Linked DNA regions of Homo sapiens: region 2 is linked to region 1. The links are contacts of gene promoters, found by promoter capture Hi-C in human tissues and cell types (Jung and others, 2019). All regions are on one chromosome and are shown on one strand. Each heading gives the region's core, a stretch centred on a gene start or on the middle of the fragment in contact. The rest is flanking DNA. Distances are from core to core; before and after follow the strand shown. Region 1 holds the start of PCP4 (Purkinje cell protein 4). Region 2 overlaps PCP4 (Purkinje cell protein 4).

Region 1 (5,868 bases), core at 668-3,167:
CAGGCTGTGACCCTAATCACAGGTGAGCTCTGGAACACGCGCTTTCTCCCTGGAGACCCGCACAGTTGAGTGAGCCCAGCAGAGCTGAGCATCCTGGAGAGCTCATGAGCACCTTGCTGGCCAGAAGCCTCAGCAAGTGACGGCATGACTGAGCCAGAATCCCAGGGTAGCTGACTTGACCCGAGAGGCCACCCCTCAGTGCTGTGCTGCTTTCTAAGTCCTTCTTCTATAGGAAACTCTTATTGGATAAGTTGTATATAAAGAAAAACCACTCCACGCAGCCATCCCTTCTTGTTGCAAGCAAGGTGAGCTGATGTGGACACAGAAGCTTCTGAAATATCTGTAGAGTCCAGCAGAAAGCCCCTCCTCCTAGCATGTGGGAAATGGAGGTCTCATCCTCATCATTCCATCTCTATTTCAGAGCCCCAGCTCCTTTCTTTCTTTCTCTTCACCTCCCCTCTCCTCCTCCAACCTCTGCCATCCCCTCTGTTCAGCAAATTCCATACACATTTAGACATCAAGATTCACCCGGCAGTCAACCACCCAGCATTGCAGCCCAAGTCTTGGCTCTACTGTTCTTTAGCTGGTGACCTCAAACCACTTAGTTCCCATCTCTGTGCCTCAGTGTCCTCATCTGTCAATTGGGAATAATAATGGTGCCCACTGCACGGAGTTGTTGAGAGGTTCAAAGAAGGTGACAGATGCAGAGACAGCCTGACACTGTCGGCACACAGACCATTAGGCAAGTGTTAGCTGCTGTTACAGGTACCATTGATTGTGGTGGTGGGAGAATTCCCATCTTCCACCCCACAGTTGGTCTCTCCCTGCCTCAAACCCCTGGCTTTGTCCTAAACCCCATTTCTAAGTTTTATAGTGCTTTGCTCTTCTTCTTGTCATGTTTACATCAAAAATCACCCATCAGAGAGATAAAAGCAGGGAGGAGGCATTTTATTTCTGAAGTTGTTAATTTTATCCTAGACTTCCAAGAAAAGAATCATCCATCTGTCAAAAAGAGACAGAGAAGATAAAAGATCTTTAAAAGTAATTATTTAAGTGCCAACCAAGAGGAAATGAAGATGCATTTGGCTCGGTTATTGAGTTGAATTAGAGAATGGTGTTGTACCACCGCTAATCTGCTTCATAGATGAGAAAAAAGGAGAAGATGATTTTAGAAAAACAAACGTGCTGTCAGTTGGCCCCAGTAAAACACATTCTGTATAAACAAGTTTAGAGAAGTGACTTTGGATTTGCAAAATTGTAGCTCTTCTTCTGCCGGGGCCGCCTCCGGTCTTAGAGCCACAGATCTATACACACGGATGTTTCCCAGTTCCTACTACTTTTTGCATTTCTTTCCCTGGTGCTCTGATTAACTGCAGAGGTAGTTTGTACAACTGAGCCATGAAATGCCACCCAACGGCCAGCCCTTTCCCCACCTTGTCCCCTTCCCTTCCATGGCTTGCATTCACCAGATGACCACCTGCCCACTCACATTCTGAAAGGTATCACCGCGGGAATCATGCAAAGACACGCATCTTCGTAAGAGAATAAAACATTTGGCTTTCTCTTCTGAGCTCTAAAACCCAAAGCACTTTTCAAAGTCACCATTCAATCAGAAAGCAAACCTTTCTCCTCCTCAGGCTAATTGTAGAAGTTGCAAACTTAACCAATTTCTGCACTTACCATTCAAACCAAGAGATTAATCCTGTCAGTTCTCCAAGCAAATAATTACAGGATTAATTTGTTCCTCAGCACTGCTAAGTCCCTCACATTTCCTGAGACTAATCCTTCAGCCGAGGTCCCTTCTCACTCCTAAGTTTCCCTCTCCAGGTCGAAGCATCACTCACCTCACTCATGTTGGCTCTAACTCAACAGCTCAGTCCCGCCGCTCAGCACAGAGAACACTGCTCAGGGGTCGCTGCTCCACCGGTTCTGGCTTTTCTCTTAAAAAGAGCTGCCCGGTGGCATCATGCCTCCCTGGAGCCAATGAGATGCATTCACCTGTCTGCAAGCCTGGCCGACATCTGAGAGCACCAGGGGCCACCTAGTGGTGCAAAAGAGAACGGCACGTTAGGTCGCTGCTCCAAATTCCGCCAGGATGGAAGGAAATGCTCGATTTCTTTAAAAAGTAATACACTCCAGCCTGGGCAGCAGAACGAGACCCTGTCTCTTTTAAAAAAAAAAAAAAAGTAAAAAGTAAAAGCTAAAGTTTCAAAGATCATCACAGGGATGCCATTGTGCGTTTTTCAATGAGTGCAAGATTTACATGCATGTAAAATACCTTTCAAATGTCAATGGGAAGGATTGTTTTTCTAAGGGAAGAGGAGCTCTGAAAATACCTGCGTGCCCGCTCACGCACTTTCAGGTTTTCCCAGGAGCTGTGTTTCCCTTGCCCTTTATAACACAAAACTCAGCCCAAGGACTTTAATATCTCTGCTGTCTCTCCCCTATCCCATATCTGTCGCCCTGCTTGTACCCTGAGCTGGAAGGATAAGAGTAGATGGACTGGGACATGGGAATGGGTCCCCACGACCTCAACAAAGGAGGCGAGCGGCTCCAGCAGCCTTGCTGATGTGCCCTCCTCACAACCACAGTGGGGCCAGGAAGGAGCCTGGGCATTGGCCCTGGCCTGGTTGAAGGTCTCCTTGCCTTAGTCCTGTTCAGCTTTTCCGGGAAGAGGTTCCATCCTTTGTTCAGTCCCAACATCGTGAGGCTCTGAAGAGTCTTCAAGGCATCAGAGTGGGCCCTCAACTGTCCCAAAAAAGCGTTGTGCAGACTGAAGGCACATTCACATCTGTTACTCTGCCAGTCCCGGTACAGGACTGAGAGGGTCTGGCGAGAAGATTGAAGCGTCTTGCCACCCGTCCCCAGCACCCCTCATCTCCCTGTGCAGAGCAGGCCACCAGACTCCAGCCCATCAACCCTCTCTCCTCAGCTCAGCAGCCCCACGCCCTCTGACCTGGACTGCCCTCCTTACATGCCCAGGTCACCGATGCGACCACATCCTCAGGTCCACCTTGGACAGCAAGCAGAAGGCCATGCGCCCCCAAATGGGCACCGGCGAGCACAGGCTGCCCTCAGAGGCCTTGGCCAGGAGCACCAGCTGGTCAGCACCCTCGCCCACAGCGTGGGAACACCAGCCAGCAAGACAGAGTCTCATACATGAGTTATTATAAAATAACCTATATTTCACAGAGCGACAGAAATGAACATTATATATATTATATAAAATATGTGTGTTATATTCGTTTCTTTTATATGTATATAAATTATTTATTTACATATCCTGACCACACAAATCATTTGCAAACTAATGAAGACAGCATCCTCCTTCTCTCACTCCCCTCCTCCTCCTTGCCCCCAATGCCACGCTTGGGAAGGCCCACGTGGGATGCCTTTAGGGTTGCCCAGGTGGTTAGTAGTGGGAGAGAAGGAGGAGGAGGGCAGGGTGAGGAACTGGAGCCATAGTGTCATCTGCGATGTAGGACAGATTGACAGATTGGAAGAAGGGTGCTTGCTTATCTATACTAGGAGACACCTGTGATTTCTCAGGGGCAAAAACCACACCCTCCCCAGGGGCCTCCTGCCCTGTTGGGGGCTGGACCCCCACAGCCTGGAGGTGTAGAAGGGGTCTCCCAGTGTGAGCCTCCATGGGGTCCCTGCTGTGGTCCTCCAGGCTGTGCAGAGGGCATGTGGAGAATCAGCCTGTGCTCTGCTGGCTGGCTCTGGAGCAGACCTGCATTTTCTAACAACACAAAGACACATCAAGGGCTGCAGCAGCCTGAGGTTGGCAGCACAGCAATTAGTGCTGAGGCTCCAAGTAGAGGGGCAGGATTGGAGGTGCAGGGCTGGGCTGAGGCTTTGCTGGGTAGACTCAGCAATTCTTTGGGACCAACCAAGGGACTATGAAGACTATTGGGGAGAATGGGTTATGGTCTGAGCTGATTGCCTTCCTCCAGAATTCATACATTCAAGTCCTAACCCTCAATATCTCAAAATGTGACCTTATTTGGAGAAAAGGTCTTTAAAGAGGTGATTAAGTTAAAACAAGGTCACTAGGGTGGGCCCGAATCCAATAGACTGGTGTCCTTATAAGAAGAATAGATTAGGGCACAGGCACTCGCAGAGGGACAACGCTGTGAGGATACAGGGAGAAGATGGCATCTACAAGCAAAGGAGAGAGGTCTCAGAGGAACCAACCGTGCTGCCCCTTGACCTCACACTTTCAGCCTCCAGAACTGCCAGGGGATACATTTTGGTTGCTTAAGCCACGCAGTCTTGGTACTTGATTCTGGTAGCCACAGGAAACGAACACAGATGCCATCACAAGCACACAGAGAAATTTCAGGGAAAGGATAGAATTACCTTAAGGGGGATTTTTCTCAAGGCCTTGTGGTATGCAATTTCATCCTACTTATTTCCCCAGGATATCTTTAGCAAAATAACTATCTCCTGTTAATGAGTCGTGGAGTTGTCCTGTTATAGAGAACACAAAATGAACGTTCAGTATTGCTACAAAGGGAGGGTCAAGCTGCCCTGGGAAATCGGTGCTCGCCAGTGACACAAGACAGGTCTGAGTGTGCAACCCACCAGGTCTCAAATGCAAGCATGCTAGCTGTCAAGAGGCACCCCAGCCTGAACACACATTGCATCCTCTCCCACAGATGGGCCCTGGGACGACATCTCCTCCCATTCATCCTCGTGGGACAGTACTACCCCAATAAGACCAGTTACCAGATCAAGAACGCCAAAGACTACCTGGACCTCTTCATAGCATATCCAGGGACAAGGACAGTCAATGAGCAATCTTTCAACCTTTTCCTGTGGTTCCGATGAGCAGTCAGGTTTGAGACGTGCTGCTTGACACAGTGATACTCTCTCCCTTTCCACCTCCTTTTCAGGCCCGCTTGGCTGTGGTTTACTTTTACACATGTATGTCAATAGCTTCAACGTGCCCCATCATTCGACTTTTCTCAGGTTAGCCAAACACTCTTACGTGACCAATGGGGTTCTGAACCAGAAGCTTAGAACTTGGATCCTAGATGTGAGAAATCATTTTCTGTATGACCTTGGCGAAGTTGTTCCATTGCTCAGTGTCTGATTTTCTCCACTGGTAATATACAAGTATTCAAGCCTTGCATCTGCCAACCTAAGCAAAAATATCTACATGAAATATATTGAGCTGGGAAATAAATTTTGAAGGAACTTCAGAAGAATTAGATCTACAGCTTCGTATATTAGATCTTGGGGAAAACTTCAGCCTGGCTGAATTAAAATACAGACATGTGGTTCTATAATTTATGGAAATGTATATATATAATAAGGACAGATTATTTTCATCTTCTTAGAAGCATGATCCTGCCTGAAGGGGCAGAGTTGGCCCAAGCTGTCTTTGAGATTATTTATAGGGACACTATATATTAATGACCTAGGGCTTTTCATCAGACTTGCATACCAAATGCATCATTTGTGTATAGTTTCTGGAGGTGTGGGGGACTTTGAAAAAGAACCTACCTTCTGCTTCATTTCCTTGCCTTTGCAGACATAGCGCTGTTTTAATCCAGCACAGATGAAGAAGGTGGTCATCCTCCTTGGAACGGAGACTGCACAGCCTGGCCTTCATGGCGAGGCTCCCTTCTTCTACCTTCACTGCTTCCCAGCCCGATGCCAACTATACACTCTGGGTGTCTACATGGGGAGCCTCAGCATCCCTGGCCCGATGGGTGAACCCAGGGGCTCCTGTCTTTGACTCCTCACCTCCTTCCCTGCTGCCCTGAGCTTGAATCTTCCTGCAGACTCTAGCCTGCTGCCAACCACTGGATGTGATGTGGCCCCGAGCCGGGAGGCTATGCAGGTTCTATCCACAGATAT
Region 2 (6,410 bases), core at 3,911-6,410, 40 kb before region 1:
GTCCCAGCTACTCTGGAGGCTGAAACAGGAGGATTGCTTGAGCTGGGAGTTCAAGGTTAGAGTGAGCTAAGATCTCACTACTGCACTCCAGCCTGGGAGACAGAGCAAGACCTTGTCTCTAAAAAATAAAAATAAAAATAGATTAAATTAAAATAATAACGTTCTGACACCGAATCACCCCGGAAAATGGCATTGGGAAGTTCTTCCCAGGGTTGTGAAAAGTTCTGAAGCTCCAGACTTTTTTTATATTGGTTCAGGTAGATGAACACCTAGGCAGAATTCAGATGGGGCCTGGTTAAATGTGACCATTTAACCAGGGCCTGTTTTATGTGGCACCTTGGCAGGAAAGCAAGGCTCCTGCCCTTTGTGGGTGCCATCGGAGCATCCCCATCCAAAAAGCTTTTACAAACCAAAAATAAAGTGGATTACTTTTATTCTTTTCAAGAAATTTCAAAGACAGAAAGAAATTTTCTGGGATCAGGGCAACAGGATCAAAAATTAATCAGTTTGGAAATACTTTAAAAAAAAAAAAAAACCTTTCAAAAGACCAACAATGAAATATCATCCCTTGACACATTCTAATTATCAGCAGAGGTAGTAGAAGCATTTCTGTCTAAACCAAAAATTTAAGCAGGGATAAAATACCCATTTGGAGCTGCCATGGCTCAAGGGAGCATTAACAGAGGCTGATGTCAAGAAACTGATGTCAAGAAACAAATTTAGATAGAATGTTAGAAAAAAAAATGTCTAACATCAGTCTATTAGAGATTGCAAACATCTCCCAGGAGCAGTAGCATCTGACCTTTTGCTAAAGTCATTTTAAGCTGAACTGAGGAAATACACAACAGGGAGTCATATTTCACCAGCTGTGAATGGCCGGGGTGACCTAATAGGCCGTTTCTAGCCCAGATAGGTAATTGGCAACGTTTTATAGTTTTGTTCAACTGTCAGATGTGTGAATAGAATAAGAATGAATATCTCATCTGCAGGTAGCTCATCTTGTCTTCTAAAACCCTATCTCCTTCTTCCACAAACAAGTCTGGATTATAATTTCAAAACTACGGTTCAACTCTTCCACACACAGCCATCATTTAAGGTGACAATAGGCTGGATTTATAGAAAAGACAAGTGAGGCTTTTTCAAGAAACAGCTATAACTCAGTATCCCATTGCCATGGGGCTGGGGAGCACCTATCCCGGCAACCTCTGGCTGAGGTTTCCCCTAGTGCTTGGTTGGTACCAGGTCACGTTGACGAGGCCCACAGGTGAAAAGGTTATAAAGTTTCTAAAGAATGTTGGCTACCTTCTGCCTGAAAGATCGCAGTCACACTTTAATTTCATGTATGCCAATTGCCACCAGAGGGAGGCACCCACTTCTTTTGTGTTTCTGTCGAGTGGACCACTGTTGTCTACACCTGTGCTCACCTCGAGGCCAGTCACTGGGGTGCCAGCCTCCTTTCTAAACTGGACATATGCTACAGAAAGATCCAGGAAAATAAACCCTGTTTCCCTGTTTTACTGTCAGATAGTTGGAAATGCAGTTTTTCTAGAGGAAATGTTAAATTTTCCCATTTTCACCCATTTTGTTGAAATAGTTGTTATTTCAACAAAAATAACTACTTGTTATCCTGTGTTCACAGCCGGTGACAATCCCATTCAGATCCCATCCATTGCCCTTACTTTCCCCTCCACTGCCTCCACCAAGAAAATACATCGTATTTCTCCTGTGGACTCATGTGCGATATCCCCTTGATGCTTACAGAAAATAAAATCAAAAGGAGTCAAATGTCCTACACTGTCCCAGGAAAGAGACAGCCACAGAATCATAAAGAGTCAGAATTCGACAAGCGCCCAAAGACAATGTCGTCGTACAATGCTGCAACCCAAAGAGATAAAATGATTCACTGCAGGTGAACCAGGAACAAATGAGTAAAGCATAGAATGGCAGGGACAGAACAAATGGGAATTCACCCAAGCCCCACCCTTCATGAGCAAACCAAGAGTCGGATGAGGTTTATTGGCAGGCCTTCAGGCCAAGCAGCTCAGGGGCCCTGCAACCGGGGAAATGGCTAAAGGGCGAGGAAGACCCTAAAAACAGTCAGCAAAAATGCCCAGCTCCTGCTGGCATGGAGGCAGCCTGGCATCAGCTAATCCATGGAAAACCCCAGCCAAAATCGGATGCTAAACATTGCTCTATCTTATTCTGAAAGTTCTATGAAACAATTACTGAGCTCAGAGTTACCTGGGAGGAACCTTCAAAGCACTTTCCCCAACCAGCAAATGCATTATAATCTACAACCCAGCATCTGCATGGACCATTTCTCATGGCCTGGCCCATTTTCAAAGCTCACTATAAAAACACTTTTTTTTTTAATGGACTGGTGGGAAATTGGATTTTGGTGAGTGCACATCCATCCAAACTGCCAAAAGCTTTATGTTTGTGTGGAAAGAGCGAAACTTGAAGTGTAAGAAAGGTTGGGTGAGAGGAGGATCATGGTCCCACGATGATTAGCCCCGTTTGCGATGACTGCTGTGGGAAGCGAGGTCTGCCCTCCTACACAGGCCAGGTCTGTTGCACTTGGATTTGGTGAACTGGTAGCAACTGGAGTCTGAAGTGAGACTTGCTTCACTCACATCAGTGCCCGGCCACTAAAGTGTCTCTCTGACATCCGAGGAGACTTTGCTGTCTAAATGAACGCCAGAGCATGATTCGATTTCCAATTGTTTTCAGGGTCTGGGATGGTAGAATAGTAGAGAGAGAAGAACACACCTTAGAAATATTGAAGAAGGCTTGGGAGGCCGAGGCGGGCAGATCGCCTGAGATCGGGAGTTTGAGACCAGCCTGAACAACATGGAGAAACCCCATCTCTACTAAAAATACAAAAATTAGCCAGACGTGGTGGCGGGCGCCTGTAATCCCAGCTACTCGGGTGGCTGAGGCAGGAGAATCGCTTGAACCCGGGAGGCAGAGGTTGCGGTGAGCCAAGGTCACGCCATTGCACTCCAGCCTGGGCAACAAAAGCGAAACTCCATGTCAAAAAAAAAAAAGAAAAGAAAAGAAAGGAAGGAAGAAATTTTGAAGAAGCTGCTTGCCAAGCACAAAAACAGCAGCAAGCATCCCCTTCACATAATCATAAGTTCCTGAAGGGAGAGTTTTCATAAACGTTGTGATGGAGGCCACGTCGCTGACTTCCCAGTTCCTCCTCCCGGCACACCCAGCCATATCTTGGTCTATCCAATCAATACGTATTTCCACTGATCACAGTTCTACACCATTCCACATCCCAAGAGGAAAAAAGGAAATGGCAACTGGAACAGAAAAACCATGACCAGAATGCAAGGAGATCCCAGCAGGTGAATAAGAAGCATCTGCTCCTTAGTGAATAGGAGAAGGGGGTAACTTTCAAAGGAAATACAATTTTAAAATTAAACCTAGTGATATGCAAATAATTTGGCTTCTTGCTCATGATGAGACTGAAGGAAATAACATGTCAGAAAAACAGAGCAGCGACACGGAACAACAGTCTGTAAGAAAACGGTGTGCTCAGCCTGAGCAGATACAGGATCTGCCCGAGGAAAAAGCGATAGTAAAAGAACAGATCAATATGCCATAATAGCCATGAGAAATTGTCATTATAATAACTGTAATATCTACTCCTTCGAATTAATGCTGGAAATAGTGAAGTCTATAAATGGCTGCATTTTAAATTCAATGATCTCACAGTACTTGTTATTCTTCTTCCTTCTTGAACGTTCAGAATGTACTTGACATTAAAGGGGCCCTGATTTCATTTCTTCACCATGGTGCAGAAAAGAGCAATTCCCCTGGTTGTGTCGGGGGAGGAGAGAGAAGAACTTAAAAGGAAATACGTGCAATTTAAATAAGGAGATGGTCATTTCTCATATTTTTAAGCAGCTGATCCTGCAGTCACAAATTTGAAGTTTAATTCAAGGTTATGAAGCCAAGATATCCAAGAGGGACCTGAATGAAAGCAGATTGGCTCCTTGGCGCCTCTCCACAGGGGTGGAGGCAAAGCTTAGCCTCTCCTCTGAGACCTCAGTCCTGCCTCCCAACCCAGGCCAACACCTACAGCCCCAGGCACAGTAGCAGCTACTCCAGCCTCCCAGAGAGCACCTGGAGCCGCGGGCACTCCCACCCTCCTCCCCACCTTTCCTTTGGGCCGAGGCAGCTGGGGAGTCATCCAGAGACTCTGCTCAGTGGGAGCAGAGCCTGGGGCGCCACTGAGCCCTTGAGAAAGCAGCTTTCTGGAAGCCCACAGTCTGTGGGTGTGTGGCTGGAAGCTACTCTCCTCCTCCCTCCTGGTCTGACAAACCCCAGCTTACAGGGGAGAACCGTGCCTGCCCAGTCCCTTCCCCATTTCCCAGTTGGCCTGCCATCTAGCGGGGCCTTCCGTTCAGACTGGGTGGAGGTGTGAACAGCTCTGTATCCACCCTCACCCACCTTCCAGCCAGCTTCCTCTTGTGTCTCCTCTTTGGCCACCTCCTTGTCCCCTTAATGACACCTGAGGAGGGATGAGGGGCTTACACCGACTGTGGGGAACACACATTAACCTTCACAGGGACAGCCTCATCGCTCCAGGAATGTCAAATATGTCATCCTTAAAAAAGAGATCTGACAGTTTTCTTTCCTTTAGAAATACTAAGCCAGCCAATTACACTACACAGTTAACATGAAAGCATGGTTTCAATAAACCACTTTTCTTGCTTTTTTTTTCTGAAGCCAATCCAGAATTTGTATACAAAAATCATTCCCACTTTGTCTTTGGGAAGCAGCAATCACTTATCGTATAATAAGCTACATTTTTTAATTAGTGGGGACAAACAGGGGAACAGGGTGACCTGGCCCAAAGGCCAGGGAGGGAAGTACATTGGCAACAACTGGAAAAAGGCACTTGGTACAATGGAACCCTGCATTTCTTGCTTCTCAGATTCACTCTCCTCTCTTCTCCTGCTCCACCTAATCATTGCTCTGTAGTTTTGGCTGGGAAAGTCCAACGGGTAGAAGTGATTAGAAGGCACTTTTTTTTTTTTGAGACAGAGTCTCACTCTGTTGCCCAGGCTGGAGTGCAGTGGCACGATGTCTGCTCACCTCAATCTCCGCCTCCTGGGTTCAAGTGATTGTCATGCCTCAGCCTCCCAAGTAACTGGGATTACAGGTGCCCGCCACCACGCCCAGATAATTTTTGTATTTTTTGGTAGAGATGGAGTTTCACCATGTTGGCCAGGCTGGCCTCAAACTCCTGACTTCAGGTGATCCACCCACCTCGGCCTCCCAAAGTGCTGGGAGCCACCACGCAGGGACTTTATTTCTTAATTCTAGCAACCTACTAGTCTCTGCAAAGTTGCCACAGCTTAGCTGTACCTTTCAACAGGCCAAAGCCCCTGTCTGTCCGCTCCTCCAGATAGGCCTCCCTGGGATTCTGGTTTCTCCTTTTCTGGGTCTGCATCTCCCCCGAGCTATGTTCTAGATTGGCTGCTAGAGAGCTTTCTTGGGTGACCCTGGGGACTTCTGCCCGGGGTCCGAAGCATGTTCTGTGGTTGCTCTAAGGGTATCCTGGAGACACGCCCAGGGCTGCAAGGCTGACTCTTCCCTGCCTCATGTGGAGGGGAGAACACATCTAGCTTGAGAGGGAGATCTACTCTTTGAGGACAATTCAGCCCACTCTGCCCACTGACAGCATTATTTTCCAAGGAGAAATATTAGCATTTTTCCGTGCTTTTGTAATCCCAGATGTACCTAATATGAAACCTACAAATTTAAACCATCTTATCATTTGGCCCAGCCTGAGATCTAGGTGGGGTTTTGCTTCTGAAAAACTGCCTGCTGTGCACATTAATTCTATAAATAAGATTATGAGTGTTTCACCTACTTAAAAGAGCAAAAGTGTTTTCAAGCGCGTGAGAAATACTATTTCCATAAAAGTAATTGACAAGCAGAACCTGAAACATTTGAAACCTGGAATATCTCCTGCTTGGGGCAGGTTTCCAAAGGCTAGAGGGATGCACATTTTCCTGGTTCAAGCTGCTTCATGGCCAAGATCTTGAAGATCTTTAAGAGTAATTCATTGAGAATAATGTATAACTTTACTTTTTCACCAAGGTGTATAAGCTTTCTCTGTATGATGTGGAATGAAATTCTATTTCAGCTGATCTAAAGCTGTCCACTGCTCAATCTCAAAAAGAAAGAAGGAAGAAAAGGATGAAAGGTAGGAAGAAAAGACGGAGGGAGGGAAGGAAGGGAAGGAAAGGGGGAAGGAAGGGGAAGAAGGAGGAGCGGAAGGAAGGAAGGAGGGAGAAAGAGAAAGGGTGAGGAAGAGGGCAGGTGAAATATGAAGAGGCTATAAATGAACATGTTGCTTTGATGTTTTAATTTTGAAAACTATCATGGCT

The links. The method cuts DNA at HindIII sites, captures the fragments that hold promoters and counts their contacts. A contact is called where the count stands out against the background at its distance.
Region 2: a fragment that was not itself captured here is called in contact with the fragment with the promoter of PCP4 in region 1 in 1 of the 25 tissues and cell types used here (thymus).

Annotation. Positions count from the first base shown.
Region 1 is chr21:39,863,487-39,869,354 of GRCh38, reverse strand. It overlaps PCP4 (Purkinje cell protein 4), which reads right to left and starts at 1,917. Exons shown (of 3, transcript NM_006198.3): 1 at 1,845-1,917. The coding sequence starts at 1,853. RefSeq lists a silencer at 1-19. The HindIII fragment of the contact is 8,471 bases long and covers 1-5,868 here.
Region 2 is chr21:39,906,438-39,912,847 of GRCh38, reverse strand. The region is part of intron 2 of PCP4 (Purkinje cell protein 4); the gene reads right to left. Among named protein-coding and RNA genes, the nearest start is that of PCP4, 42 kb to the right of the region's middle. The HindIII fragment of the contact is 3,855 bases long and covers 3,233-6,410 here.